Regions from separate parts of the Homo sapiens genome. Here all the other regions are linked to region 1. Evidence: promoter capture Hi-C in 16 types of primary human blood cells and fetal thymus (Javierre and others, 2016). All regions are on one chromosome and are shown on one strand. The core of a region is centred on a gene start or on the middle of the fragment in contact, and the rest is flanking DNA. Distances in the headings are between cores, read along the strand shown. Region 1 holds the start of OR2T4 (olfactory receptor family 2 subfamily T member 4). Region 2 holds the start of OR14K1 (olfactory receptor family 14 subfamily K member 1). Region 3 has its middle 3.9 kb from the start of OR6F1.

What was found. Contacts are between HindIII fragments. The CHiCAGO score rates a contact against its expected background, and 5 or more counts as called.
Region 2: the fragment with the promoter of OR14K1 here is called in contact with the fragment with the promoter of OR2T4 in region 1 in 2 of 17 cell types (endothelial precursors and M1 macrophages); the score reaches 8.6 in endothelial precursors.
Region 3: a contact is called between a fragment that was not itself captured here and the fragment with the promoter of OR2T4 in region 1, in 1 of 17 cell types (M2 macrophages). The highest score is 5.8, in M2 macrophages.

Annotation. Positions count from the first base shown.
Region 1 is chr1:248,358,617-248,363,039 of GRCh38, reverse strand. It overlaps OR2T4 (olfactory receptor family 2 subfamily T member 4), which reads right to left and starts at 1,375. Exons shown (of 1, transcript NM_001004696.2): 1 at 413-1,375. The coding sequence starts at 1,375. The coding sequence ends at 413. The HindIII fragment of the contact is 1,770 bases long and covers 1-1,489 here.
Region 2 is chr1:247,736,346-247,740,783 of GRCh38, reverse strand. It overlaps OR14K1 (olfactory receptor family 14 subfamily K member 1), which reads right to left and starts at 2,169. Exons shown (of 1, transcript NM_001004732.2): 1 at 1,225-2,169. The coding sequence starts at 2,169. The coding sequence ends at 1,225. The region is part of intron 1 of OR14A2 (olfactory receptor family 14 subfamily A member 2); the gene reads left to right. The HindIII fragment of the contact is 3,693 bases long and covers 630-4,322 here.
Region 3 is chr1:247,718,486-247,722,700 of GRCh38, reverse strand. No RefSeq gene overlaps it. Among named protein-coding and RNA genes, the nearest start is that of OR6F1, 3.9 kb to the right of the region's middle. The HindIII fragment of the contact is 2,252 bases long and covers 344-2,595 here.

The DNA.
Region 1 (4,423 bases), core at 126-2,625:
ATTAATTTCAATTTTACAGAAAATTAGCATAAATAAAAGTAGTACAAAGAACATCTATATGAACCCTTTTTCTTCCTCATTTCTCCCTCTCTCTCAATTTTATGCCTTATAACCTTTATCCTCTAAGTAGTATCATTATGTATTCCCAGAATATGAAAATATCCTATAGAATTAGAAAGTAGTTATGAACTTCAGTAACTGTAACATCAATATAATATGACTGAATAATGCATTTTGAAGTGAGACGGAGTGTAAATTGAAAAGTTTCTAGTACAGGAAAGCGATTTCTAAAAGAGGTGTGAAAATGAGATCAAACACCATGGCAGTCTTGGAGTCTGGGAAATAACACTGGTATAACATTCTCATATGTGAAGTGCAGAGAGAAGGAAAAGTAAATTACTCTCAAAATGGTCTACTCCATAGCTTTTTGAAAGGCAGGTTCCACTGTTAACATTTTCTTCAGAGCCCCCATGACATCCTTATTCCTAAGACTATAGATTAAAGGGTTCACCACTGGAGTGAGGATGGTATAGAAGACAGATACCATCATGTCCTTCTCAGGGGTGTGGTAGGAGCTGGGGAGCATGTAGGTGTAGATGGCAGCCCCATAGAAGAGGATGACCACAGTCAGGTGGGAGGAGCAGGTGGCAAAGGCCTTTTTCCGGCCCTCTGCTGAGTTCATCCCGTGGATGGTGAGGAGGATGAGTAAATAGGAGCTTGAAATGATCACCACAGGGATGAGGAGCATGAGGACACAGCACAAGTACATGAAAATCTCATAGAGTGAGGTGTCTGAGCAGGAGAGATTCAATACAGCAGGAACTTCACAGAAGAAATGATGAATCTCCCGGGATCCACGGAAGGGGAAGGTCATGGTGATGGGAGTGAATGTGAAGCCATCCACTGAGCCCAGGAACCAGCAGCCTGATGACAGGAAGAGACACACCCTATGGTTCATGAGGACAGGGTAACGGAGAGGATGGCAGATGGCCACGTAGCGGTCATAGGCCATGGTGGCTAGAAGGAAAAATTCTGAACCTGCTAGTGTCACGTAGAAGAACATCTGCATCCCACACTCAGGGGCTGAGATCTTATTCACACCCATGACCTGGTCCAGGAGCATCTTGGGCACAGTGACAGAAATGTACGCCATGTCCATGAGAGACAATTGACTGATGAAAAAGTACATGGGGGTGTGGAGGTGGGCGTCACAGTGTATCAGAAGGATCAGGACAGCATTTCCAGACAACGCCATCAGGAAAACCACAAAAATGACCACACAAAGTAGTGCTGGATGTTTGGATTGTCTGAAGAGTCCCAACAGGATGAAATCCGACCATCCAGTGTGGTTGGCCATCCAGGTGATATTGGCCATTGGATGTTTGGATTGTCTGAAGAGTCCCATCAGGATGAAATCCGACCATCCAGTGTGGCTGGCCATCCAGGTGATGTTGTCCATGAGGTTTCACCTAGGCCACAAAGGAAAGCTTGGGGTTAAAGTAATTTGAGCCTCTGAAACAAATTGTGTGTGTGTGTGTGTGTTCTAACCAAAGAAAGGCCCATGGGCCTGTAGATTTGGGTGTTATAAATTATCTGCAATTCAAAAAATTTACCAGGAACTAAGAATTCACAACTGTGGATCAAAAGGGTGATTTGTAGTGAAGTTGCCACAGTTCTGAGTCATGAGATTTCCCGATGAGAGTGTCTGTTATAAACAAGTCCTGGAAACTGGCAGTGTCACTGCCTTATGCAGACATGAATAGTGAATTATTGAAAACAAAGGAGAATTTTGTCCCCCTGTTTTTAGAGTTGTTTAGAGAAGTCTAAAGTGAATTACATTCTCTGGTTTAAGGATCCATCTGGAATCTTAAAAACTCCCAAAAGTGTATTCCATATAGGAATGATTTAGAACATGACTAAAATATCACTTGTGGAAAATCCATACCAAACATTTGCACCCTTCTACCCACAGTATTGGACAATGCTGTGAGGCTCTGTGGTTTCGTGGAGCAAAACCCCACACATCCCCATGAGCAAGCCAGGGTCCTCCTACACACCAGACTCCTCAGAAACCAGAGTCGCATGGGGTGAGGAGCCCAGGGACCGTGGCTGGACTGCAGGGTGGACCCAGCTTCCCCTCTACCTGCTATTCCTCTGTTTACTGCACATAAAAATAGATGGTAAGAAAAGGTTTGACCTCAGGGTTGATGAAGATTAAATGCAGAAAAGTAATGAAAGTGCTTAGAATATTACCAGTTACAAATGAACAAATACATACACTGTCAAAGAGTTAATATCTACACAAATTATTCTGCAGACTGTATTACTATAATCATCTTATGATATGAGCTTCATTACTTCAGTTTGCTGATTTTATCATTTAGTCAGACTTGTAAGAATTTGGATTTGATAATTTCTCTAGTCCCAGACAACTTGTATGTATACAGTTTACATTTATTTTATATAAATTTATAGATATGCATTTTTATATATGTGCAGATTTACAAATATAAGAATACATTGTATATGCATATTTACAAATAGAAATGCATATATTAATGTAAGGTATGTCTCTTATTTTCATGTTGAGCAGAGATTTATGCAGAATCCACCTTCTTTGTGACTAGTGCATGCTTCTCCAAGCTTAACTCCTTAAAGCTCCTGTCATTCGCATTAAATCTCAGGGGGGCATAACTGGGATTTAGAAACTCCCTGCTATTTACCAGGTAAGGCTTTTGGTGTTTTTGCAAATATCTGCTTTATTGCCTGCTACAGTGAATTTTTTCACGGAAACTGTGAGGCAGAAAAGAAAATAAAACACTAAGATGTCTCTCACTTCAATTAAATTCCTTCCTCTATCTTGCTACTCACAGCCTGACTCTGTGTTAGCTAGTGCAGGAATCAAAGACAAATTATATTTGATTAAGCTTGAGGAGGTCACAGTCAGTCTATTCAGGAAAAAACATATAAACATGATTTAAAGTACAACTTCAGATTAGAATAGCTATGAGCTACATTAACAAGGCTAATAGAAGCAAAATACATTTAACCTTTCTGAAGAGAATCACTGATAACTCCTACATTTTCTCTTAAGAAGATTAAAACTTTGCAACTTTTCGATTTCTGACATGTTGTTAAATTTTAGTATTTATCAATAGGAAGAAAATATAGGGTCCTTTTTCAGGGAAGACTTTAGCAGTGGTTATCATACAGTCATATTTCAGGAAGAATTTCCAAGTTTCAAATACATTTTGAATTCTTTTAATAATTCTAATTAGACTTATTAATATTTTCAAGTTTTGGAGAATAATAATTAGATGCGGAGACTGGGCAGCTGTTTGCTAAGTGAATGGAGGGAGACCAAGAGGGCAGTGCGGGATGGGAGGTGGATGCTGGGCAAATCTCTGCTGCACTTTTGTAAATGGAAGTCCCTGTCATTAAGCCACGCTGAACAGCTGACCTGGGACACCAGATCAGTGAGGGAAAACTGTGACTGCAGCATGCAGCACAACTGGACTTTTTCTTTCTTTTATTTTTCTTGATCACATTGCTTGAGTTTCCAAACAGCACAATGCATGTTTAACCCAGGGAATAATTAATAGTGGTGGTAGGGCAATATTGAGCATTTATGTGAAGCTTACAGTATCCTAGGAATTGTTCTTAATGCCAGTTTACCACATTTAATTTTCCTCAAGAACCTATGAGGTATATAATCTAATTTCACCATTTACAGATTTAAAAGTTCAAGTTCTGGGGTATCTATCTAACATCACACAGCTAACCCCATGGAGTAAGTACATCGGTGCAGGTGCGGGACCCAGAGCATGTCACTTACCTCAGTTCTCTTGGGGACACAGTCCTGCTTCCGTAGACTAAAATTTGGGTTTTAGATAACTCACTATTGGTTTCACCAGGGAAACATAAATATGATTGAAACATTTGTTGCTAGTGTTTTCTAACTCTAAGACCTAATTTCCATTCAAAGAAAAATTAGTTGTTTTTCCTCTGCAAAATTTTCATCCCACTAAAACAAATGTATCATTCAATAACAGAGGAAGAATATATATGATTTTGTCCATAAATACTTTGGAAATGAAAAACCCGTTTACTAATATGTTGCAGTAAATAAGTATTATATAAAATGAGACTCAAAGGAAAAATAAAACAGATTGGCTTTTCTCCATAAAAATAGATGATAGAGGGAAATGAGGAAATACAGTCAAGAACTAATAGAAATGTTTCAAAAGCAGAACAAGTCAAGAACCGTGACCATCTTTTGTTCCTGCAATACTGTCTACCTATCTGGTGTAACTCACCATCAGATGATGTCTTGACCCTCATTTGGAGGGGCTCATGGTGTGTGGCTGGCTTAAGTGTGCAAAGAAAAACAAAAGTGACATCATCCCTGGCTTCACTGTGTCCA
Region 2 (4,438 bases), core at 920-3,419, 620 kb after region 1:
ATGTTAATTTCCATCTCTAGGAAAGAAGCAGCAAGAGGACAAATAGGGTGATACGACGATTGTCTCCTGCAGCAAGGAGTAGAAAACAATTCTACACATTTAGGGTACTTGAAATGTTATATAATATTAAAGGTCCAGAAAATGTATAATTTATCACAATGTTAGAAACAGTGCTAAATGCTATTTCATTAATTCTAATACATTATGAAAGCAATTTGCACAAGTCAGGAATCAACACATTAGAGAAAAAGAAGTTTTAATGAAGAGAAAAATATTCTACTCCAAAAACATAATTTATTTTTAAAAAGACATGAGAAAATCACCTTCCTAAGTGTTTGGGTAATTGTATAAAATCTACCAAGCACACATGAATCAAATAGGTAAAATGCAATAAAATTGAGTACATTTTTTAAACTGTAAAAGTAAGTTGAAATCATAACTTTAAGTTAAAATTACAACTTTTACCAAATAGTGAAAATCAGAAGCTATAAAGAACGTTGAATCGATAAAACCTGAGATGCAATGCAAAATCTAGGACAATAAAGCAGAAACTAACTGAAGAGAATGCTGGAAAAGATAGGACAATAAAGCAGAAACTAACTGAAGAGAATGCCGAAAAGATGAAAGCTTTTTGAGGTATGAGAACCTCATACAAATCTCATGCAATGCATGTGGATCTTCAGAACAAGAGTAAAAATCATTGAAGTTGTCATAGGAAAACTTTAATTATTTCTACATGAATAACAGATGTCAAGTGAAGAAGTATAGGAAAAGAGATGGGCACGGTGGCTTACGCTGTAATCCCAACACTTTTGGAGGCTGAGACCAACGGATTGCTTGAGGTCAGGAATTCAAGACCAGCCTGGCCAACATGGTGGAACTCCGTCTCTACTAAAAACACAAACAAATAGCTGGGCGTGGTTGCATACACCTGTAATCCCAGCTACTTGGGAAGCCGAGACATGATAATTGCTTGAGCCAAGATCACGCCCCTGCACTCCAGCCTGGATGACAGAGAGAGATTCCGTCTCAAAATTTTAAAAAAAAAAAGTGCAAAAATTGTAGGAAAATAGTTGCTTTCTATTTCTATTAAAACTGACTGCTTGAGATTATCAGTAGCAAGACTCCATGACATTTTTATCCCAAAATAGAGATAATTTTAAACAGCTAGTGGATGGCAGAACAACAACAACAAAAAAAGTTACTTCCCATCTTCAACTTTAGTCATCTTTTCATTACCCCACTGCTTCTAACATTCCACAGGACTTTACTCAGAGCGGATTTAATGTCCTTGTTCTTCAGACAGTAGATAACAGGGTTCAAGGTTGGAGGTGCGACAGAATAGAACACAGACACCAGCAAGTCTAGAATAGAAGGTGCATCAGACCCTGGCTTTAAATAAGCAACAGCACCTGTTACAAGAAACACAGTGACAACAATGAGGTGAGGCACACAGTTGGAAAAGGCTTTGGATTGTCTCTGTCTCTGTGATATCCTTAACACAGCAGAGAAAATGTACACATAGGAAACTACAATGCAAACTAAACATGAAAATGCATAACAGACCCCAATGGCCACACTGACACTAATGATGGCATGTTCTTTAGAACAAGTGAGCTTTAGTAGGGCAGGGACATCGCAGAAGAACTGATGTAGCTCATCAGAGCCATAAAAATTCAGAGAGAATGTTCCAGCTGTGTACAAGAGTCCCAAGGCCCCTCTGTTGAGCCAGGACAGAGCCATCAACTGGACACAGAGCCCTCTGCTCATGACAGCCTCACAGTGTAGGGGGCAGCAGATGGCAGCATAGCGGTCATAGGACATGGCAGTAAGGATGCCAATCTCTGATCCAGCCAGCAGTACCACCAAGAAGAGCTGCAACACACACCCCAGGAAGGAGATGGAGTCAGTGGAGGCGACAGAGTTGAGGATGGATTTGGGGACTGTGGCAGAAATGAGACACAGGTCTAAGAAGGACAAATGTCGGAGGAAAAAGTACATTGCCATGTGGAGACGATGGTCCAGAATCATGAGGAGAATGATGACTAAATTCATCAGCACAGCCGTGAGGTAGATCAGTGAGAAGAGCAAAGCATGCAGCCTCAGGAGCACCCAATTCTCAGTAAATCTCACAAGCAAGAATTCCATCATCTGTGTCTGATTGGTCATAGTTCAAAATTATAAGCGCCCTATGGAGTAAAGGAAAATAAGTGTCATACTAATATTAAAAAGTATCATTTGTTTCTTCATTTGTTGAATGAAGGTATGTGTAGCATCAAGGCCTAGACAAAAAGTTTAAAAATATCAAGCAATTTATATTTCTCATGGACTCAGGTGTAAAACAACTGTGGGTATATCAGTCTAACACTTAGTAGTCCTGGACTAAGATTTATTGTGAAAGAAGCAAAGAACTTCACTTCTCTCCCTCATTACTTGAAATGACTTTTGAGTGATTTTATTTCCTTTGGGAATTACAGGGTTGGCTATGCAATTATATATAAAACTGCAATAGGGCATACATTTTCATGTATAAATATCCCGGTTAATGTAGTTTTGTGTGTATTAAATGTTGTGAATGAAATTTCTGCTTGCTACTTACTGCAATATTTAAAATAGTCATTATCCTCAGGTGATACTCTAATTTACTATCCCCTTCTCACTGAAGGATGTTAAGATTATTCTCCCATTTTTGCATTAAAGTTTACTCCTTTGGTGAAAATGTGATTATAGTATCATTTTTTTCTTTCTTTAGTCCATATACATAGCATAGCACAAAAATTAAAAAGTACTCGTTATTTTCACAAATCAGTTTTCAAATATATAGTGTCATTTTTCATGAAAAGAACAAAAACCTGAGACTTAGCCAGATGATTAACATAATATTCTAGGAAGGATTTAATTAAACACAGGAAGCGACAGACAGGGATATCTACTGCATCTAACCAGAGATGCAGTGTGTCCTCTTATGTGATAGACATTCAGAGATTGTCATCTGAGATCCCTCGCACACCCCAACGTGAGGGAGAGTTTTGGCCATGTTTTTCCCTCAGATCATCTTGTCTTTAGAACCTCTCTTGATTTTACTTTAGTATCACTTCAATGGCAATTTTTTCACTTTCCCCTTTGGTTTCCAGGCCATCTCTAAAACACACAGAACAGAAAACAGGATGGACGGTTTGCTAGTTTGGAAGTAGCTCTTAGGGTATGTAGACACTGCTCTAGGTTTTATTCTCCCCAGCAGGTCAAACAGAGGAGGCTTTAAGTTTGGGGCAGCCATGAACTTGCTCATGTTGAGCTATAAGTCAGGCTCTCCATTATTGCTCTAAAGCTACTGCCAGTGCTTTTTCCAACAAGAACACCCAAAGTTTGCAACATAGCATGAGATTTCCATTTGCTCTTGAGTCTTTTCAACTTAAAAAATATTTTATTTTTGTAGACACAAGAGAGTCTCACTTTGTTGTTCAGCAGTTTTTCAACTGAAAGAGAATGTAGCAGACCATTACAACATACATTCTCCTCCTTCTCTATACACACATATGCACACACACACAGCCGAGAGGATGAGCAAGAATAAACAGAGCTTTTCCAGGATGAGCAGTCGTACCTCTAACCTTCATAGAATATGTCCATTTCAGTACAAGTGATTTTCTGAGAACTAAATTAACAAGTGATTTAAAGTTGAAAAGGGACCAGGCATGGTGGCTCATGCCGGTAATCACAGCATTTTAGGAGGCTGAGGCCAGAGGATCTCTTAAGGCCAGGAATTCGAGACAAGCCTGGACAACAAGATGAGACCCCTCTATGTCTACAAAAATTAAATAAAATAATGTTTTAAGTTGAAAAGACTCATGAGCAAATGGAAATTTCTTACTATGTTGCAAACTTTGGGCTTTCTTGTTGGAGAAAGCACTGGCCCTAGCTTTAGAGCAATAATGGAGAGCCTGACTCATAACATGAGCTAATTCATGGAAGCCCCAAAAGTAAAGCCTCCTTTGTTTGACCTGCTGGGGAATAAAACCTGGAGCAGTGTCAAAATACCCCAAGAGCTACCTCCAAACTAGCAAACCATCCATCCTTGTTTCTGTTGCATTAGCCTGTGTGTTTTAGAGACAGCCAGGGTAGCTCAGTGAGTGAGTGAGTGTCCTTTTGAGTTCCTTCCACCCCAGTGATGTTTGACTCCAATGCTAGATTTTTATCCCTTCAGTCTCATTTTTGATTTATATTTCACCTTATTTCACATGCTTACATATGAAATGAGTGATAGCATTAGTTTAAAAGTCTGTGTGCTTTTCTTTACAGATAACATTAATAACAATAAAGCTTTGCCTCATTATATTTATATACTTATTTGGTCCAGGGAAATTCCACATGATTAAATAAAAATATGCAATCTGAGTCTCAATCAATCTAAAACTGGGAAAATACATATAATACACAA
Region 3 (4,215 bases), core at 220-2,719, 640 kb after region 1:
CAGATAAAATTCACATGACTCCCCTGAGAATCTAGCTAGAGCTGAGCAAGAACAATACTAGGCAAAAATAACACAGTGAGCTAAGGCCATTTTAGAGGTGTGCCCAGATCTGTAAACAATCTGCAGGACACCTAAAGCAGAGGTGAGAAGACATGTCTGAGCCAAGGTCTCCTAGGCAAGTGGTGGTCACCCAGTAAATAGTATTTCCAGAAACAGACCAGGCAGAGTTCTGAAGGTCTGAGAACTGTGTGTTTCTATGTGTCTGCATGTCTATAGTTCAGAAAGGCCTTCACCTCTCCCTGTATAAAGAATAATGTTTTAAATCTGATTCTGAAGAGAAGCTTGGAAATGTGTTAAAATGATTTCCCAAGTCATTCAGTTGTGATAGACTTCCTTTGGTTTAACCACGAGTGTCTACAATGTGAAACCTTTTTCTTTACCTTCTATATAACCCCCCTAGAGATTCTGTGTCTTATTACAATAACTTTCTGGGTTTTATATTGACTTTGTTATGTTCTTATTTATCTAAGAAAAAATACAAATATTCCTAAGATTGTTCTCAATTATTATGCTCTTTTTTCAATCATGTTACTAATGTTTTATTAACCATTGAATTAACTAGATGGCCAGGTAATAATTCTGAGTCACATGTTATCTTATTTAATCATGTCCCAAATATCCTCTGACAGCTATGTTGATTTTTACCATACCAAAATAAGATGCTAAAAATATAAATAAGGTTAAATTAAACTTTCATGATATATCTTACACATAAAATTTCCTTTAAGTTCTACCAGAGGGAAAATCACACAATTATTTGTTCTTTCCCTTTAAAGAAAAAAATGTATGCTAAACATGAATCAATTATGTTGACATGTACATCTACCTATTGTCAGAGTTGAGTAGGCAGAGTTGTAAAAGAGAAAAGACTGTTACCCTACCCTCAGTTAAATTATATTGGTGAAATATTTTTGGTTTAAATATTTAAGAAATTACGTGCATTGTGGAAAATCTGTTGAGATTTTTCAGTGTCCTCCCTTTTGTTTTTTTAGTAGCATCTGATATTTTATAATTATAGTCCTCTTTTTCTTATACTTTATTAGTTTTATTGATACACAATAATTGTATATATTTATAGGGTACATATGATATATTGATTCAGGCATATAATGTATAATAATCAAATTGGAGTATTTGTGTTTTTCTTTGTCTGCCTGAATTATTTCAACAGAGTTGTCTTCAAGTTCAAAATTTTTTTCTTCTACTTCATCTAGTATTTTGTTGAAGCTCTCAATTACATTTTTATTCCATTCATTAAATTCTTTAGTTCCAGGATTTCTATTTGTTCTTTTTTACGGTATCTATTTCTTGTCGAATTTCTGATTCGGATCATGATTTTTTTTCTTATTTCTTTGTATTATTTATCTGTGTTCTTTTGTATCTCACTCGGGTTCTTTCAGAGAATAATTTTTCTTCAGGCATTTTATATGCCTTTTCTTTGGGGTCTTTTACTGGGGAATTATTGTCTTCCTTTGTAGGTGTCATATTTCCTTGCTGTTTTGTATTTCTTTCATCCCTATGTTGATATCTGTGCATCGCATTTAACAGTCACTTCTTCCAGGTTTATGGAGTAGCTTCTGTAAAGAAATACTTTTTCTTACTATATATGTGGCTTCAATTTTGGTTGGGCAGATTGCTTTGGCTTTGGTTCTGGATATGCACCATACTGTAGCCACTGTATGATTTCTTTTACTGTTATCAATGTCAGTAGTTTCTGTGCGTTCCTTAGTGGCTTAGGTTGCAGTTGTTTGCAGATGCTTTGGCTAGCCTTTGCTGAAGATGAGGACACAAGGTTGACTGGTGCTTAGGCCTTTTGGTGGTGTGTGCAAGTGCTAGCTGTAGTGGCAGCAAACCCTCAGTAGGCCAGTCTTTAGACCTTTGAGTGTGTAACAAGGATGCTGGCTGTAGAAACAGCAGGCTGGACAGGCTGGCCCTCAGGCTCCTGGGTGGGGTGTGTGGGTTCCAGTAGGCTGGACACACCACTCTTCAGCCTCTGGACAGTGTGTGCAGGTGCCTACATGTGTACTTACATGGATCTCTCATTTACCTTTTTTCCATATGAGAAGGGAAGTACTTCCTGGCTCCTAGCCCATCCAACTGGCTGCCTTACTTCCTTCTCTATGCTGCCATTTTGAATTTCCATACCTCAGAAGGTTCCTTTTGCTTCCCTGCTGGATACCAGCATTCTCTCCTAGACAGTGCCGTCAACATTTGGCTATTTACTTGCTATCTCAGTCCTTCTTTGTGGAGTAGGTGAGTGCTGGGCATTTCTAGTTAGCCATCTTAATGACAGCTGTCCAAATTATATCAGTGCCTTATTTTTCTATAATATGTTTTAATTACCAGGGAAAAATTGATAAAAAACCATTTTTTAGAAGATTGACAGCTAGTAAATATTTAAGAAATAATAGAATTTAAAAATTCATAATATTAATCATCTATATTGGAATTGATTCAGGCAAGAATCAGCCATGGATGATGAAACCACTAGAAAAAGAGTTGCAAGAAAATGAGATATCTTCATAATGACAAGCTTTTAACCTCAAACTATCTATTCCATATTTACAATAAAGAGAATGATGGTAGCCTCCATAATCTAATTGATCAAACTGGTAACAATAATAGTAAAATAACTTATGTGCCTCCTGATATGTTACAATATGTAGACTACATCATCCTTGAAATATTCTCTTAAAATATTTAACCTGGAGTTTAATCAAGCCTCAGAACTAACTTCCAGTTTTCAGAAAAACAGAAGATACAAATTTAATAATACCACATGAGAAACAACTGAACAAACAAATAATATGAGACATCCTGTAAGAGACTGATGAGACTGCTCAAAAAGTCAAATTTGGGGGCAAAATGACCAAGGAGAGTCCTACAGTAAAAGAAACTAAAGATGGATTACATATTCACAAGAACATTGAAAAGTATATGGTATCTGAGAATAACTCATCAATGGGGAAAAATAACTTTTGGAGAATATAATTTTTTAAGTTACCTAAGAGTATGAACAAAATGAAAGTAGTTGGATTATATACTGTGTACAGGGATGAGAAGATTCAATAAAGGTGTTGATTCTCCATAAGTAACCAATAAACTTTTCATTTGAAGTCTTAAAGTAGTTCAAAATGGAACTTAAGTTTTTAAAACATTCATATACACAACTTAACAGCCATGAAAATTAAAACAATTTTTAAGATGAAAAAGTAAGAAGTAGAGTAATGGCTTTTCAGATATAAACATGTCTATAATATTACAGTAATTGAAAGATTATGGTTGTTTAGAGATAGAAAATGGACCAAAGGAAGAAAACTCAATCCATTCATGAATGGTGACCAGAATATGACAGAGGATAAATCATACATTACTGGAAAAGGAATGACTAGAAAGGAAAATAATGTAGAAAAAAATAGAATTAAATATTTTTAAAATCCACCTTACACTACACATACAAAAAATAAAATTCAGATGAATTACAAACCTAAATATACTGAAGTTCACATCCTCACTGACACTTAACTTTTATCTTTTTTATGATAGCCACTCTAACAGGTGTGAGGTGATGTCTCACTGTGGTTTTAATTTGCATTTCCCTGATCTTTAGGGATGCTGTGCACTTTTTCATATATTTGTTGACTATATACCTTCTTTTAAGAAATAACTGTTCAGGTCCTTTGCCCATTTTTAAATTAGATTATTTGTTTTCTTGCTATTGAGTTTAGTGTCTTATTTATTTCAGATATTAACTCTGTATCAGACATATGGTTTGCAAAAGTTTTCTCCTAATTCAGTTTGTCTCTTGTTAACTATTTCCTTTGCTATGCAGAAGCCTTTTAGTTTGATGCAATCCCATTTGTCTAATGCTTTTGTTGCCAGTGTTTTGGGGGTCTTATCCAAGAAATCATTGCTCAGACCAAAGTCATGGAATTTTAATTCATTTTGCATTGATTGTTGCATATTGTGTGAGACAGGGTCCAATTTCATTCTTCTGTATATAGCTATCCAGTTTTTCCAAAGTACTCAGCATGCCAAAGTGTCATACTTTGAGGTATCATTTTCTGAGCCCAAACATAAGCATTACTGGTGTTACTGTAGAATATATTTTCAGATTGTTTCACACGAACAAACAAACTAAAAATATTAAATATA